Regions from separate parts of the Homo sapiens genome. Here region 2 is linked to region 1. Evidence: promoter capture Hi-C in human tissues and cell types (Jung and others, 2019). All regions are on one chromosome and are shown on one strand. The core of a region is centred on a gene start or on the middle of the fragment in contact, and the rest is flanking DNA. Distances in the headings are between cores, read along the strand shown.

Evidence for each region. The method cuts DNA at HindIII sites, captures the fragments that hold promoters and counts their contacts. A contact is called where the count stands out against the background at its distance.
Region 2: a contact is called between the fragment with the promoter of ZNF274 here and the fragment with the promoter of ZIM3 in region 1, in 1 of the 25 tissues and cell types used here (small bowel).

The regions. Positions count from the first base shown.
Region 1 is chr19:57,139,359-57,146,451 of GRCh38, reverse strand. ZIM3 (zinc finger imprinted 3) reads left to right here and starts at 1,250. Exons shown (of 5, transcript NM_052882.1): 1 at 1,250-1,593; 2 at 3,767-3,823. The coding sequence starts at 3,809. The HindIII fragment of the contact is 26,155 bases long and covers 1-2,799 here.
Region 2 is chr19:58,180,459-58,187,446 of GRCh38, reverse strand. It overlaps ZNF274 (zinc finger protein 274), which reads right to left and starts at 4,386. Exons shown (of 8, transcript NM_133502.3): 1 at 4,005-4,386; 2 at 3,449-3,526; 3 at 1,609-1,735; 4 at 405-500. The coding sequence starts at 3,481. RefSeq lists enhancers at 3,534-3,723, 3,350-4,061, 3,974-4,393, 4,062-4,775. The HindIII fragment of the contact is 17,090 bases long and covers 1,326-6,988 here.

The sequences.
Region 1 (7,093 bases), core at 1-2,500:
ATATATAAAATCACTCCACCCCTTTCCGTTCACCTGCAGGCTTGCTCTGTCTCTCAGGCTGGAATGCAGTGGCAAGATCCTTGCTCACTGCAGCCTTGACCTCTTGGGCTCAATTGATCCTCCCACCTCAGCCTTCCAAGTATCTGGGACTATAGTAGTCCGACACGGCGGCTGGGATTCAGGCTGGCTGGGTCATTTTGCTTTTTTTTTCTTTTTTTTTTTTTTGAGATGGAGTCTCCCTCTGTCGCCCAGGCTGGAGTGCAGTGGCATGATCTCAGCTCACAGCAACCTCTGTGTTTTGGGTTCAAGCAATTCTGCCTCAGCCTCTTGAGTAGCTGAGTAGCTGGGACTACAGGTGTGTACCACCATGCCCAGCTAATTTTTGTATTTTTAGTAGAGACAGGATTTCACCATGTTGACCAGGCTGGTCTTGAACTCCTGACCTCAGGTGATCTGTCTGCCTCAGTCTCCCAAAGTGTTGGGATTACAGGCTTGAGCCACCGCACACCGCCAAGGGTCATTTGCTAATACGATCTTTGGATACCTCTTCTCCTGGGAGGAGGTCTAGTCTGGTGCATCCTGTCCCATGAAGTCTGGTTTAATCTCTTGGAATTCAGTTGGACGCTCAATTTTGGAAGGTCTCCATGTCTGCAGGCAAGGGCATGTAGCCTGTGTTTAAATTCAACACCCAGACTAGGGTGGGGATGGATTGGCATGTTGATCTCATTTTGAGAGTATTAGTACAGCTGAAGAGATTTTGCCAGTTGGAGGTTGGAGCCTGAATTCTTTCTGTCGGGCGGAGAGCACTTTAAGGCATTGTTCCACCTCCGCTGGCCCTATTTCTTTTTTCTTTTCCTTTCTTTTTTTTTTTTTGAGACGTGAGATGGAGTCTCGCTCATTGCCCAGGCTGGAGTGCAGTGGCACGATCTTGGCTCACTGAAGCCTCCGTCTCCCGGGTTCAAGCGATTCTCCTGCCTCAGCCTCCCAAGTAGCTGGGATTACAGGCACGTGCCACCATGACCAGCTAATTTTTGTATTTTTAGTAGAGACGGGGTTTCCCCATGTTGGCCAGGCTGGTCTTGAACTCCTGTCCTCCCAAAGTGCTGGGATTACAGGCATGAGCCACCGTGCCCAGCCAATTTTTGTTGTTTTAATTTATTTTCATCCTCTGACATTTGGATAATGTTTTCCATGCTTTCTATTTCAAAGTTAAGGTAAAAAATTTTTACTTGCATGAACTTAAAAAAAATTCCATTGGAAACTGATTGGGCAGATTTGAAAATTAAGCTTTCACAATCACAATTTTTATGAGAGTTCATTCAGTTTTGGAGAAGTCGAGGAAAGAATTGGGAATTGAAATTTTGATGTGGCCTGATAGGATCAGGTGGGGCTTTTGATAGGAAGTGAGTGTTTTGGGTTGTTTCTTGACTGGATTATGATGCGGAATACAGCGGGTAGAGGGCCGATTAAGTTTTAGTCATTAGTGTAGCTTTTCAGTATACACGCCTTTTCATTTTCAGTCCCTTTCAGAAGAAAAGACCACAGGCATCAGAAATCAATCAACTTGCTAATTTATGCCAGATTCCACTGGAGGTAAGCTGATTTTTTTTTCTCCCTGAAAACCAAATGTCTGGGTTTTGTTTGTTTGTTTGTTTTGCATTTTTACTTAGTTTCATTTTTCTACCTCTCCTATTTGCTGGAATAAGCTAAATATTTTACATTGGTAGTTTAGATTTTTTTTTTAGTTGTCATATTGAAAAGTGATGCTCCCAGGACACTCAAAATTATTTTCGTGGCCCTCCAGTCCTTAGCATTACTGCTGGCCCACAGCTACTTCTAAAAACTTTTTATTGACAAATAATAATTGTGTTTATTTATGGGGTACAATGTGATGTTTTGATACATGTTTACATTGGGGGGATGATTAAATCAAGCTAATTAATCTATTTTTGTGGTGAAAGCATTTACAATTTACTGTTTTTTAAAATTATATATATTTTTTGTGCTAGAATTGGACTCCTCAAACTTTAATAAACATTAAAGTTGTGCCCGGCAAGTTTATTCTTTTTAAAAACATATTTACTTATTTAAAACTTTATTCCTGGCTGGTGTGGTGGCTCATGCATGTAATCCCAGGATTTGGGGAGGCTGAGGGAGGAGGATTGCTTGAGCCTAGGAGTTTGAGACCAGTTTAGGTGACATAGCAAGATCCCTTCTTTACAAAAAATAAAAAGTTAGCTGATGTGGTAGCATGCACCCATAGTCTTAACTATTCAGGAGGCCAAGGTAGGAGGATTGCTTGAGCCAGGGATTTTTAAACTGCTGTGAGCCGGGATCACATCACTGCACTCCAGCCTGGGTGACAGAATGAGACCCTGCCTCAATAAAATAAAATAAAAAATAAAAACTTTATTACTTAAACATTGAGACAGAGGTTTCACTATGTTGCACAGGCTGGTCTCAAACTCCTGGGCTTGGCTGGATGTGGTGGTTCACGCCTATAATCCCAGCACTTTGGGAGGCTGAGGCCGGCGGATCACTTGAGATCAGCAGCTCGAGACCAGCCTGAACAACATGGTAAAACCTTGTCTCTACTAAAAATGCAAAAATTAGCTGGGCATGGTGGTGCATGCCTGTAATCCCAGCTACACGGGAGGCTGAGGCAGGGGAATCCCTTGAACCCGGGAGGCAGAGGTTGCAGTGAGCCGAGACTGTGCCACTGCACTCCAGCCTGGGCGACAGAGCAAGACTTGGTCTTAAAAAAAAAAAAAAAAAAGTAACTCCTGGGCTCAACTGATCCTCCCACCTTGGCTTTCCAAAGTGCTGGGATTATAGGTGTGAGCTGCCACGCGTGGCCAAAATCTACGCTTTTGGCAAAGAATTACCAATGATCCAGCTGTCCCGCTTATGGCAAAGCTGAAGGGCTATCTGCATCCCATGTTCACTGCGGCGTTATTCGTCACGACCACAGCTGCTTCAGGATTCATGGTTTCTGCTCTCGGCCTTCCTTACTGTGCTCTAGCTGATCTGATGCTTGCCTCATTGTCTTTGCACAGGCTTGTTTTAAAGGTGCTGTTGAACTGCTGTTTAGCTTTCTCTCTCTCTCTTTTTTTTTTTTTTTGGGACGGAGTCTCGCTCTGTCGCCCAGGCTGGAGTGCGGTGGCGCGATCTCGGCTCACTGCAAGCTCCGCCTCCCGGGTTCCCGCCATTCTCCTGCCTCAGCCTCCCGAGTAGCTGGGACTACAGGCGCCCGCCACCACGCCTGGCTAATTTTGTTTTTGTATTTTTAGTAGAGACAGGGTTTCACCGTGTTGGCCAGGATGGTCTTGATCTCCTGACCTCGTGATCCGCCTGCCTCGGCCTCCCAAAGTGCTGGCATTACAGGCATGAGTCACCGCGCCCAGCCAATTTTGTATTTTTAGTAGAGACGGGGTTTCACCATGTTGGACAGGCTGGTCTCGAACTCCTGACCTCTGGTGATCTGCCTGCTTCAGCCTCCCAAAGTGCTGGGATTACAGGCGTGAGCCACCGTGCCTGGCTTGCACTTTCTTCTTTGAGACCCAGTCTCAATAAATAAACAAACACAAAAAAACCAAAACAAAAAAAAAAAAGACCTTCAGAAGGGGATCACTGAGGTACAAGTCAGGGCTTTTCTGAGTGGGTTAGGGAGAGCTTTTATCCAGGGTGTGGAGCATTCTATGCTGGATGATCCCCAACTTCCAAAGCGAATTCTGCTATTTCATGGTTCTTTTCCATTTTCCCTCAGATCTGCCTTCCCAAGACTTTACTGACTGGTGAAGAACAGGAAATGAACAATTCCCAGGTGAGCTTTTCAAAAAAATCTAAATCTCATAATGAATAAACGTATGACCCACGTTCCTCTTGCTCAGAATTAACTGTGCTAACCTTTTGGCATATTTTCCTCCTTCCTTCCATACTTCTATTAAAAGGTAACACACACTCTACTTTCTGCTTTCCTATTAAAGCTGAAACATTTCAAGTAAAGCTCAAGGCTGGGCATGGTGGCTCACACCTGTAATTCAGCAATCTAGGAGGCCAAGGCAGGCGGATCGCTTGAGTTCAGGAGTTTGAAACCAGCCTGGGCAACATGGCGAGATCCCGTCTCTACAAAAAATTAGCTGGGTGTGGTGGTGGTGGCGTACACCTGTAGTCTCAGCTACTCTGGAGGCGGAGGTGGGAGAATCGCTTGAACCTGGGAGGTTGAGGCTGCAGTGAGCCATGATTGTGCCACTGCACTCCAGCCTGGGTGACAGAGCATGACCCTGTCTCAAAAAAAAAAAAAAAAAAAGCTTGGTTACGGAAACACCAGGAGTTTGGTCTAGGTCCTGCTACTGGCTGCACAGAAAGCCAATGACTGAGACAATGGGTATTGCCAAGGAAGAAGCTTTAATCAGCTGCCGTAGGTGAAGAAATGGGAGCTCAGCCTCAAATCCATCTCCCTAACTCACTAAAACTAGGGGTTTATACAGCATGGAAGAAATATAACAATGTGTAAGAAAGCAAGACTAGGGAGGGGGCAAGGAGACATCTGTTGTGGTGAGTTTCAGTTGTGGTGAGTTTCAGTTGATTTTTTTTTTTTGAGGGAGTCTCGCTGTGTCACCCAGGCTGGAGTATAGTGGTGCAATCTCAGCTCACTGCAACCTCTGCCTCCCAGGTTCAAGCGATTCTCCTTCCTCAGCCTCCTGAGTTGCTGGGATTACAGGTGTGCGCACCACCACTCCTGGCTAATTTTTGTATTTTTTGGTAGAGACGGGGCTTCACCATGTTGGCCAGGCTGGCCTCGAAATCTTGACCTCAGGTGATCTGCCTGCCTTTGAGAGATCTGAAGGTCTTTTCCTGAGGAAGGAACTCAGACAAAACAAATACAGGTTTCAAGCTTTAACAGCGGAAGGGTCAATTTCTATGTTTATCCAAAAAACAAAAACAAAAACAAAAACAAAAAACAAAAAACCCACAACTGTCTATGGGATTACTGGGCTGGTTTCAGCTCAAGCATCTTTGTTTTGTTGTTTTTTTTTTTTTTTTTTTTTTTGAGACAGTCTCCCTCTGCCACCCAGGCTGGAGTGCAATGGCTTGATCTTGGCTCACTGCAACCTCCACCTCCCAGGTTCAAGCGATTCTCCTGCCTCAACCTCCTGAGCAGCTGGGATTACAGGCGCACGCCACCACGCCCACGCCCGGCTAATTTTTGTATTTTTAGTAGAGATGGGGTTTTACCATATTGGTCGGGCTGGTCTCGAACTCCTGACCTCAGGTGATCCACCCGCCTCAGCCTCCCAAAGTTCTGGGATTACAAGGGTGAGCCACCACGCCCAGCCTCAAGCATCTTTTGACCATTGCTCTTACAAACCTGGTCCACTGCTAAGCCCTGAGATGTAACAGTGTCATGTGTGTTTCACCCCAACCTATTTTTTAAATGATTGGTGTCTTGAATGTGTGTCCTCTCCCAACTTTGTTCGGTGTGTATTTGAAACAAATTCTGTAAATCCACACAATAAACTGAAAAATCATTAACTAGTACCAGTCGGAATCAAAGTAAATTATGGATAGCTGAAAGACCAAGGATAAGTTGTATGCAGTTAGGCAGATAGTAGTTTCTTTGCAATTGTTAAAATTAAGCCTGTTGACCAATTTCCTGTTGACAGGAAAGGCATACTAAGGCTGGGTGTGGTGGCTCACACCTGTAATCCCAGCACTTTGGGAGGCGAAGGCAGGAAGACCACTTGAGGCCAGGAGTTCAAGACCAGCCTGGACAATATAGTGAGACCCTGTCTACAAATAATAAAAAATGAGCTTAGCATGGTGGTGCATGCCTGTAGTCCCAGCTATTCTGGAGGCTGAGGTAGGAGGATTGCTTGATCCTGGGAGGTTGAGGCTGCAGTGAGCCATGATCATGCCACTGTACTCCAGCCTGGGTGGCAGAGCAAGAACCTGTGTCAAAAATTTAAAAAAAAAGGCCGGGTGCGGTGGCTCATCCCTTTAATCCCAGCTCTTCGGGAGGCCGATGCGGGCAGATCACTTGAGGTCAGGAGTTTGAGACCAACCTGGCCAACATGGTGAAACCCGTCTCTACTAAAAGTACAAAAATTAGCCAGGTGTCGTGGTGCGCGCCTGTAATCCCAGCTGCTCAGGAGGCTGAGGCAGGAGAATCGCTTGAACCCAGGAGGTGGAGGTTGCAGTGAGCCGAGATTGTGCCACTGCACTCCAGCCTGGGCTACCAGAGTGAGCCTCTGTCCCCTTCCCCGCCAAAAAAAATTAATAAATAAACAAAATTTTAAAAAAGCGAGCTAGAGCACAAACACAACTAAAAAATTTATCTGTCCAAGAGGACACTAGGTGCTGGCTCTTAGAGGTGAGATTTTCAGTTTCTGACAAAGGAATTCGCTTTACAAGTGTGACTTCCAACACTGTGAGTGTTGAGTGGCAGGGGCAAAATGCTGCCGTAAGTCCAGTATGGCTGCAGGAGAGACCCAGGGGAGTGCTGTGTGACCCTGTGTGAGTGGGAGTGTGGTAGACATGCCAGACGCTGGCCCCTGTAACAGGTGTCACCTGTTTCTCCCAAATGCAAGGAAAGCTGATAAATTAGGGGAGCGCACCATCCAGTCTGAATGTCGACTGTGGAAAATAGATTACAGTCAGTTTAGATGTAGCTGGAAGAATTAGGGGGCTATTGGCTTATTCTACTTATTTATGTATTTATTTATTTGAGATGGAGTCTCACTGTCACCCAGGCTGGAGTGCAGTGGTGTGATCTCAGCTCACTGCAACCTCCACCTCCCAGGGTTCAAGCGATTCTCCTGCCTCAGCCTCCTGAGTAGCTGGGATTACAGGCGCGCACCACGACACCTGGCTAATTTTTGTATTTTTAGTAGAGATGGGGTTTCACCATGTTGACGAGGCTGGTCTCGAACTCCTGACCCCGGGTGATCCACCTGTCTCAGCCTCCTGAAGTGCTGGGATTATAGGTGTGAGCCACCATGCCAGGCCTCTATTTAAAAAAGAATTTCTAATAGAGGCAGGATGTCTTAAAGAAAAATGGAAAATAGAAAAAAAATATAATAACATTTTCTTT
Region 2 (6,988 bases), core at 3,137-5,636, 1.0 Mb before region 1:
CTCCAAAACAAAAAGAAGCTGACTTGTCTGTATTATAACACCCCCAAAATGTGTATATATATTCACATACATTCACGTAAGCCTATATAAGAAAGTCTGGCTGGAAATACACACCAGGGTTACCAGTGATTATGAGGGGAGGGCAGTAGACAATGCGTGTAACAGACTAAGGGAGCCCCTACTGTCAACACAAGTATCACCTGCCACCAGCAACAGGTTCACTTTCAACCAAGTAGGACACTGCTGACTGTGGAGCCAGAGAAAAACTTCGAGTTTGGTTCTGCAACTGCTCATCACAGCATCCCACCTGGGGTATCCCAATGTCTACTGCTTTTCCAAGATACTGGTCCCTGACTCATCAGTTGGCCCCTTCCCTGTGGGGGCTTCCCATGTCTGGTTCTCACCTGGAATGGTGTCTTGAGGAATTCCTCTCTCCACTGGCCAGAAATCTTCTGCCTCCTCTAACTGAGATACCACATCTGGTTTGGAAAGCTGATGTTCTGCTCAAAGGAAAAGAGACAGGGCTTGTGGGGGTCTGTGTTCAGGAGAAAATGCTATCCTACTGCAGCACAAGCCGTCTCCAGCTTCTCCCCTGCTAAGGCACATGACTTCTGGCCTAGAGCAGTGAACACAACTCCATCCATCCCTGTTGTTGGCTTTCCTAGACTCCTTTGCCAAGCAGCTAAGGGGTCCAGTTCTGGTCAGCCAGACACAAAGGGAGATCGGTCAGCTGGGAAAGCTTTTGCTTTCTGGTTAAACATGACAGCTGTGAAAGGGCTACCCCTTCTCCTTGTTTCTGCCTTGAACACAGATGCAATGCTTGGAGCCACAGCTGTGCAATGACTAGGGGGAACATGGAAAGGTTCACAATAACCAGAGTTTGAAGGGACAGGCTTTTTTTTTTTTTTTTTGAGACGGAGTCTTGCTCAGTTGCCCAAGCTGGAGTGCTGTGATCTGATCTCAGCTCACTGCAATCTCCTCCACCTCCCATGTTCAAGCAGTTCTCCTGGCTCAGCCTCCTGAGTAGCTGGGGTGCTCGGCTAATTTTTGTATTTTTAGTAAAGACAGGGTTTCATCATGTTGGTCAGGTTGGTCTAGAACTCCTGACCTCAACTGATCTGCCTGCCTCAGCCTCCCAAAGTGCCAGGATTACAGGCGTAAGCTACCGTGCCTGGCAGGGACAGGCTCTTTGATGCTACTCCTAAGCTGTTGGGACACTGGCATCGCATTGTCTGGAATTTCTGTGGAGTTTCTTTTTTTTTTTTTTTTTAATAGAGACACGGTCTATGTTGCCCATGCTGGTCTCAAACTCCTGGGCTCAAGCAATCCTCCTGCTTCAGTCTCCTAAAGTGAGCCACCATGCCTGGCCGGAACTCTTGTTGCAAGAACAATAAGCATCCACTACTGCAGCTGAAAACATCCCTGACAGACCCATCTCCCTGGTATTCAGGGAGGGATGGACTAGGCAATGATTCAGAAGTCATACTGAAAAGCTGCCCTTTTCCTACTGGTGCCCCTGCAGTGTGAGCCCAAGCAGACACATACTTCAGAGGTGCTACATTTGTGCTACAAAGCACAGATCCTTCTTGACCTGGAGGCCAGCCTTACCCACTGAGACCAGGTTCCTGTAGTTCTCCAGCATCACTTCCCTGTACAGGGACTTCTGTTTGAGGTCCAGCAGTCCCCACTCTTCCGGGGTAAAACCCAGTGTTACATCTTCAAAGGTCACTGGTTCCTAAAAATCCAGATTCTTGTTCAGCCACAGGCCATCCGCATCCACGACAAAAGAAAGACAGGGGAGGCTGACCAGGCCAGTGAAAGCACAGAATGGTCTACAAGATGACCCAAGGGCATTTTGGGAGTCTCATCCTGAGTTCCTGTCTTTGTCTGAAACCCCAAGCAAACCCAAGCTTGACTCTATTCAGGTTACAATAAGGAGAGCAACACATGAGATCTCTGTAGCATATGAAAATCTGTCCATTTTATTTATTTATTTATTTATTTAATTTATTTATTTATTGTTTTGAGACAGAGTCTCACTCTGTCTCCTAGTGGAGTGCAGTGGCGCAATCTTGGCTCACTGCAGCCTCCACCTCCCAGGTTCAAGCGATTCTCCTGCCTCAGCCTCCTGAGTAGCTGGGATTACAGGCGCATACCACCATGCCCGGCTAATTTTTGTATTTTTAGTAGAGATGGGGTTTCACCATGTTGGTCAAGCTGGTCTCGAACTCCTGACCTTGTGATCTGCCTGCCTCGGCCTCCCAAAGTGCTGGGATTACACATGTGAGCCACCGCACCCGGCCCTATTTTTCTTTTCTTTTTTTTTTGAGACGGAGTCTCTCTCTGTCGCCCAGGCTGGAGTGCAGTGGCGCCATCTCGGCTCACTGCAAGCTCCGCCTCCCCGGTTCACGCCATTCTCCTGCCTCAGCCTCCCGAGTAGCTGGGACTACAGGCGCCCGCCACCACGCCCGGCTAATTTTTTGTATTTTTTTAAGTAGAGACGGGGTTTCACTATGTTAGCCAGGATGGTCTCAATCTCCTGACCTCGTGATCCACCTGCCTCGGCCTCCCAAAGTGCTGGGATTACAGACGTGAGCCACCGCGCCCGGCCCCCTATTTCTTATTCATTTGAAAATTCTGACTTTGGGAGTGGTGCGTATGCCTCCTAGGGAATTCTCTGAGCTGCACCATCACACCCAAGCCGTCAGCCCCTACCCAGGGCCCTGATGCTTCTTTCTATCTCCTTCACCTGTCAGGGATCCATCCTCACCTGTCTTTTCTACTTGTTATTGAACTCTGCTGCTGTCACCTCTTGCTTGATGCCAATTTATCTGCTGAAATCTAAACATAAGCCTGATCCCTGCATAGACCTTTGGGAGGCCGAGATGGTCGGATCACCTTAGGTCAAGAGTTCCAGACCAGCCTGGCCAACATGGTGAAACCCCGTCTCCACAAAAAACACACACAAAAAATAAAAATAAAAAAAAAATTAGCTGGGTATGGTGGCACACGCCTGTAGTCCCAGCTACTCGGGGAGGCTGAGGCAGGAGAATCACTTGAACCCAGGAGGCGGAGGTTGCAGTGAGCCAAGATCGCGCCACTGCACTCCAGCCTGGGCGACAGAGGGAGACTCCATCTCAAAAAACAAAAAACAAACAAACAAAAGACCTGTCAATTACTCTTCCCAATATAAAGGATACAAGCAAGAGCCTTAACCTGGCCTTCAGAAGCCCCTACAATCTGGTCTCTATTCTAACTACACCCTTGGAAAACCAAGCAACCTGCGGTTCCACCATCACGCAGGATCTCTCATGCCCAACCAATCTCTACCCCCTCCCCGAGGTGCTCTGGAGGATGGGGGTATCTCAGGGAAGGTGGTATCTCACCACCATCCGCATCCTCCCAGGTGCAGTAGCGGACTCAAAAGCTGAAGGAAGCCTCTACTCACACAGGACCAGGCCGTCGGAAGCCTGGAGGCCATAGTTTCCTCCTTCTCAATGTGTCTCTGGTGGAAGTGGGCAGAGTCCTGAGGAAACCGAAGTTGGGAGGGGAGGGAGAGGCTTAAGGTGTCCGCTGGGGAGCTACCGCAGCCTCCGCCCAGGAACGGCTCCCTCAGCGGGAAATGACAAGTCCACCCAAACTGGAAAACGCCCAGAGTGAGTCATAGGACTCCCACAGGACTGGATAGGACCAGTTTTCCCCTCCCCGAGAGGACACCGAGCCTCCTCTGTCCCGCGCATCGGAGGGGATCGCCTCCCTGGCCCAGACCCCACGCTTCCGGAGGCGATCTGTTCTCTCCACCGCGGCGCCCCGAAAGCACTGTCTCCCCTCGGGGTTCCGGGTCACCGACCCCATCCCACAGAGCGGCGGGAGGACTGCAGGCACGGCCGGCTCAGGGTACCCGAGCTCGGCGGAAAATGCAGAGGCCGCGCTCGCCCCCAACTAACGGTTCTGGACCCGCCCAGCGCAGCCCCCGACGGACGCAGGTTTCGCGCGGCACTCACCCGGCGCGCGCCGCACAATGGCGCCCGTCGGCCGGCGGCGAAGTGCGTCAGCCCGCCGTCCCGAACTACAACTCCCAGACGCCCCCGCGGCGCGCCAGCTTGCCTCACCCAGCGGCGGCCATCTTGACTGGCCGGTTAGGGGCGGCAGGCGAAGCCGGGGACAGCAGGAGGAGGATACTCGTCGATGTCCCTCGGCGGTCCAGCTAGGCAAGGGGAGGCCTCTGGTGAGGGACGCTAGGCCGCAGGGCCCCACACTAATGTGGGCGGCGACCCGAGCTGGGAGAGAGTCGTGCCCTGCCACGAAGGCGACCACTCTTGGGGCAGAGCAGAAGCTGGAGAAAGGAAAGGCGCTGGACAGGGGTCAGGCCGGAAGTGCTGGAATGGGTGATGCTTGGTTGGGTGGCGGTGGGGGCGGGATTAATTATGACGTCCCTTGGGAAGAGGAAGGGCGGGTAGGGCCGGAAGTGCAGGGGGCGGGCCTAACTGGCCGTCCATCTGGGTGGAGGGGCGGGGACAGGGAGGGCGGGGAGAATGTAGGAGGCGGGGCTAGAGTCCACGCAACTTTTGGGGAAGGAGGGGGACTGGAAGACGGAAGTCGCGGGGGGAGTGGGGAGAGGTACTGAAGTTCCACCAGTTTCAAAGTCGAGAAAGAAGGGGAGGACTGGGAGAGCCGGAAGTGTGCAGGAGTTGGGACTGACGGCACTTATGTTTCTGGGAGATGGGTCCTGCCTGAAAGTGAGGGTGGACAGGGCCAAGTGTCCACTCAAGGTCAGGGAGGGGAGGGAAACTCGGAGGACCGGAAGTGTGATGGGAACGTGGCCAAACGTCCACCCTAGTTCTGGGGATTAGAGGAAGGGAGTAGGAAGGTCAGGGGTGTGCAAGGGGAAGGAGGGAAGACTAGGTGGACCACAAGTGTGATGGGAATGAGGCCAAACGTCTACCCTAGTTCTGGAGAGATGATCAGGGCTAACTGTACCCCAGGCATTGGGGAGGAGGAGCAGGATCCTCTGCCTAGTGTCCCCCTGTGGTCCAGTTTGCTCCTGGAAGCTGAGGTGCTCATGTCTAGGGAGAGGAAACCTAAGTCTGTAGCTGTCCAGGACCTGGTGTGTGCCACCCATCCTTGGGCCCAGGGTGCTCTCATCTTCCTTGGGAGCTCAGGACAAGGAGGTATTCTCTTGGCTTCCTCAAGGACCGACATCTGGTGTTTTCTTATCTTCCTTAGGTCCCAGGTCCCAGTATGGTCTTGTCTTCTTGGGACCTGAGGGCCCTAATGATCTCTCTCAGTGCTCAGGACCCTGTGTCCTCTTTCTTGATATTTCCTGGCAGGTCTCAGCAGCCCTCTGCCTCCCTCTGGTGGTCGTGTACACTGCCTGCTAAACTTGTTCCACGGGTTGTTGGTTTTTTTGGTCACTGTGGAGGATCCAACCTCAGGCTACACATTGTTTAATTGTTGCTGTTAGTGTGTTGATTTTGGCATAGGAGTATTTACTCAGAGACTGTGCAGATATCTTATAGTCTAATAATATTTCATTGGATTTTTCGTGTCTATTATAGATACAACACCATCCCCAATTAATAAGTAATTTGATATCTTCTTTTTCCATATTTCAACTTTAAAAAATTAACATTGTATAGTCCTAGCTAGTATGACAGAGCTATGTTAAGTAGTCATGTTTACTAATAGTCTTGTTTTGTTCTGGATTTGAATAGGATACGTCTAGCCCTTCATAATCACAAGGAAGCAAACCCCCTTGGAAATTCTTTTTTTTCTTTCTTTTTTTTTTTCTTGAGACAGGGTCTTGCTCTGTCACCCCGACTGGAATGCATTGGTGCGATCACAGCTTACTGCAGCCTCCACCTCCTGGGCCCAAGTGATCCGCCCACCTTAGCCTCTCAAATAGCTGGGACAGGTGCACACCACCACACCTGGCTTTTTTTTTTTTGGAGACAGAGTCTTGCTCTGTCGCCCAGGCTGGAGTGAGGTGGCACAATCTCGGCTCACTGCAACCTCTGCTTCCTGGGTTCAAGCGATTTTCCTGCCTCAGCTGCCCAAGTAGCTTGGACTACAGGTGTGTGCCACCATGCCTGGCTAATTTTTGTATTTGTAGTAGAGACGGGGTTTCTCCATGTTAGCCAGCCTGGTCTCGAACTCCTGACCTCAGGCAGTCTGCCCACCTCAGCCTCCCAAAGTGCTGAGATTATAGGCATGAGCCACCCCGCCTGGCCTCTTTTGTACTTTTTTGTAGAGACAGAAACCTCACTATGTTGCCCAGGCAGGTGGAAATTCTTCTAATGATTTCTTTCTATTTATGTGGTATAGGATAAAACCTGATTTTTGATTAAAAGAATTTGTTTTTGAGACAGGGTCTTGTTCTGTTGCCCAGGCTGGAGAGCAGTGCTGCAGTCATGGCTTACTGCTGGCCCAACCTCCTGGGCTCAAGTGTTCCTCCCATCTCAGCTTTCCAAGTAGCTAGGACTGACTACTGGTGTGCATCACCACACCTGGCTAATTTTTAATAAATATTTGTGTAGAGATGAGGTCTCAGTGTGTTGTCAGGGCTGGTCTTGAACTCCTGGACTCAAGCAATCCTCCCGCCTTGGCCTCCCAAAGTGCTGGGATTGCAGGCGTGAGCCACCATGCCTGACCAAAGATGTTTTGTTTTTTTTTTTTTGTTTTGAGACAGAGTCTCGCTCTTTCGCTCAGGCTGGAGTGCAATGGCGTGATTTCGGCTCAACTGCAACCTCTGCCTCCCGGGTTCAAGTGATTCTCCCTGCCTCAGCCTCCTGAGTAGCCGGGCGTGCCACCATGCCCGGCTAATTTTTGTATTTTTAGTAGAGATGGGGATTTGCCATGTTGGCCAGGCTGGTCTCGAACTCCTGACCTCAGAGGATCCGCCCACCTCGGCCCCGCAAAGTGCTGGGATTACAGGCTTGAGCCACTGTGCCCAACCTAAAGATGGTTTTATATAAGCATATTATTGAAG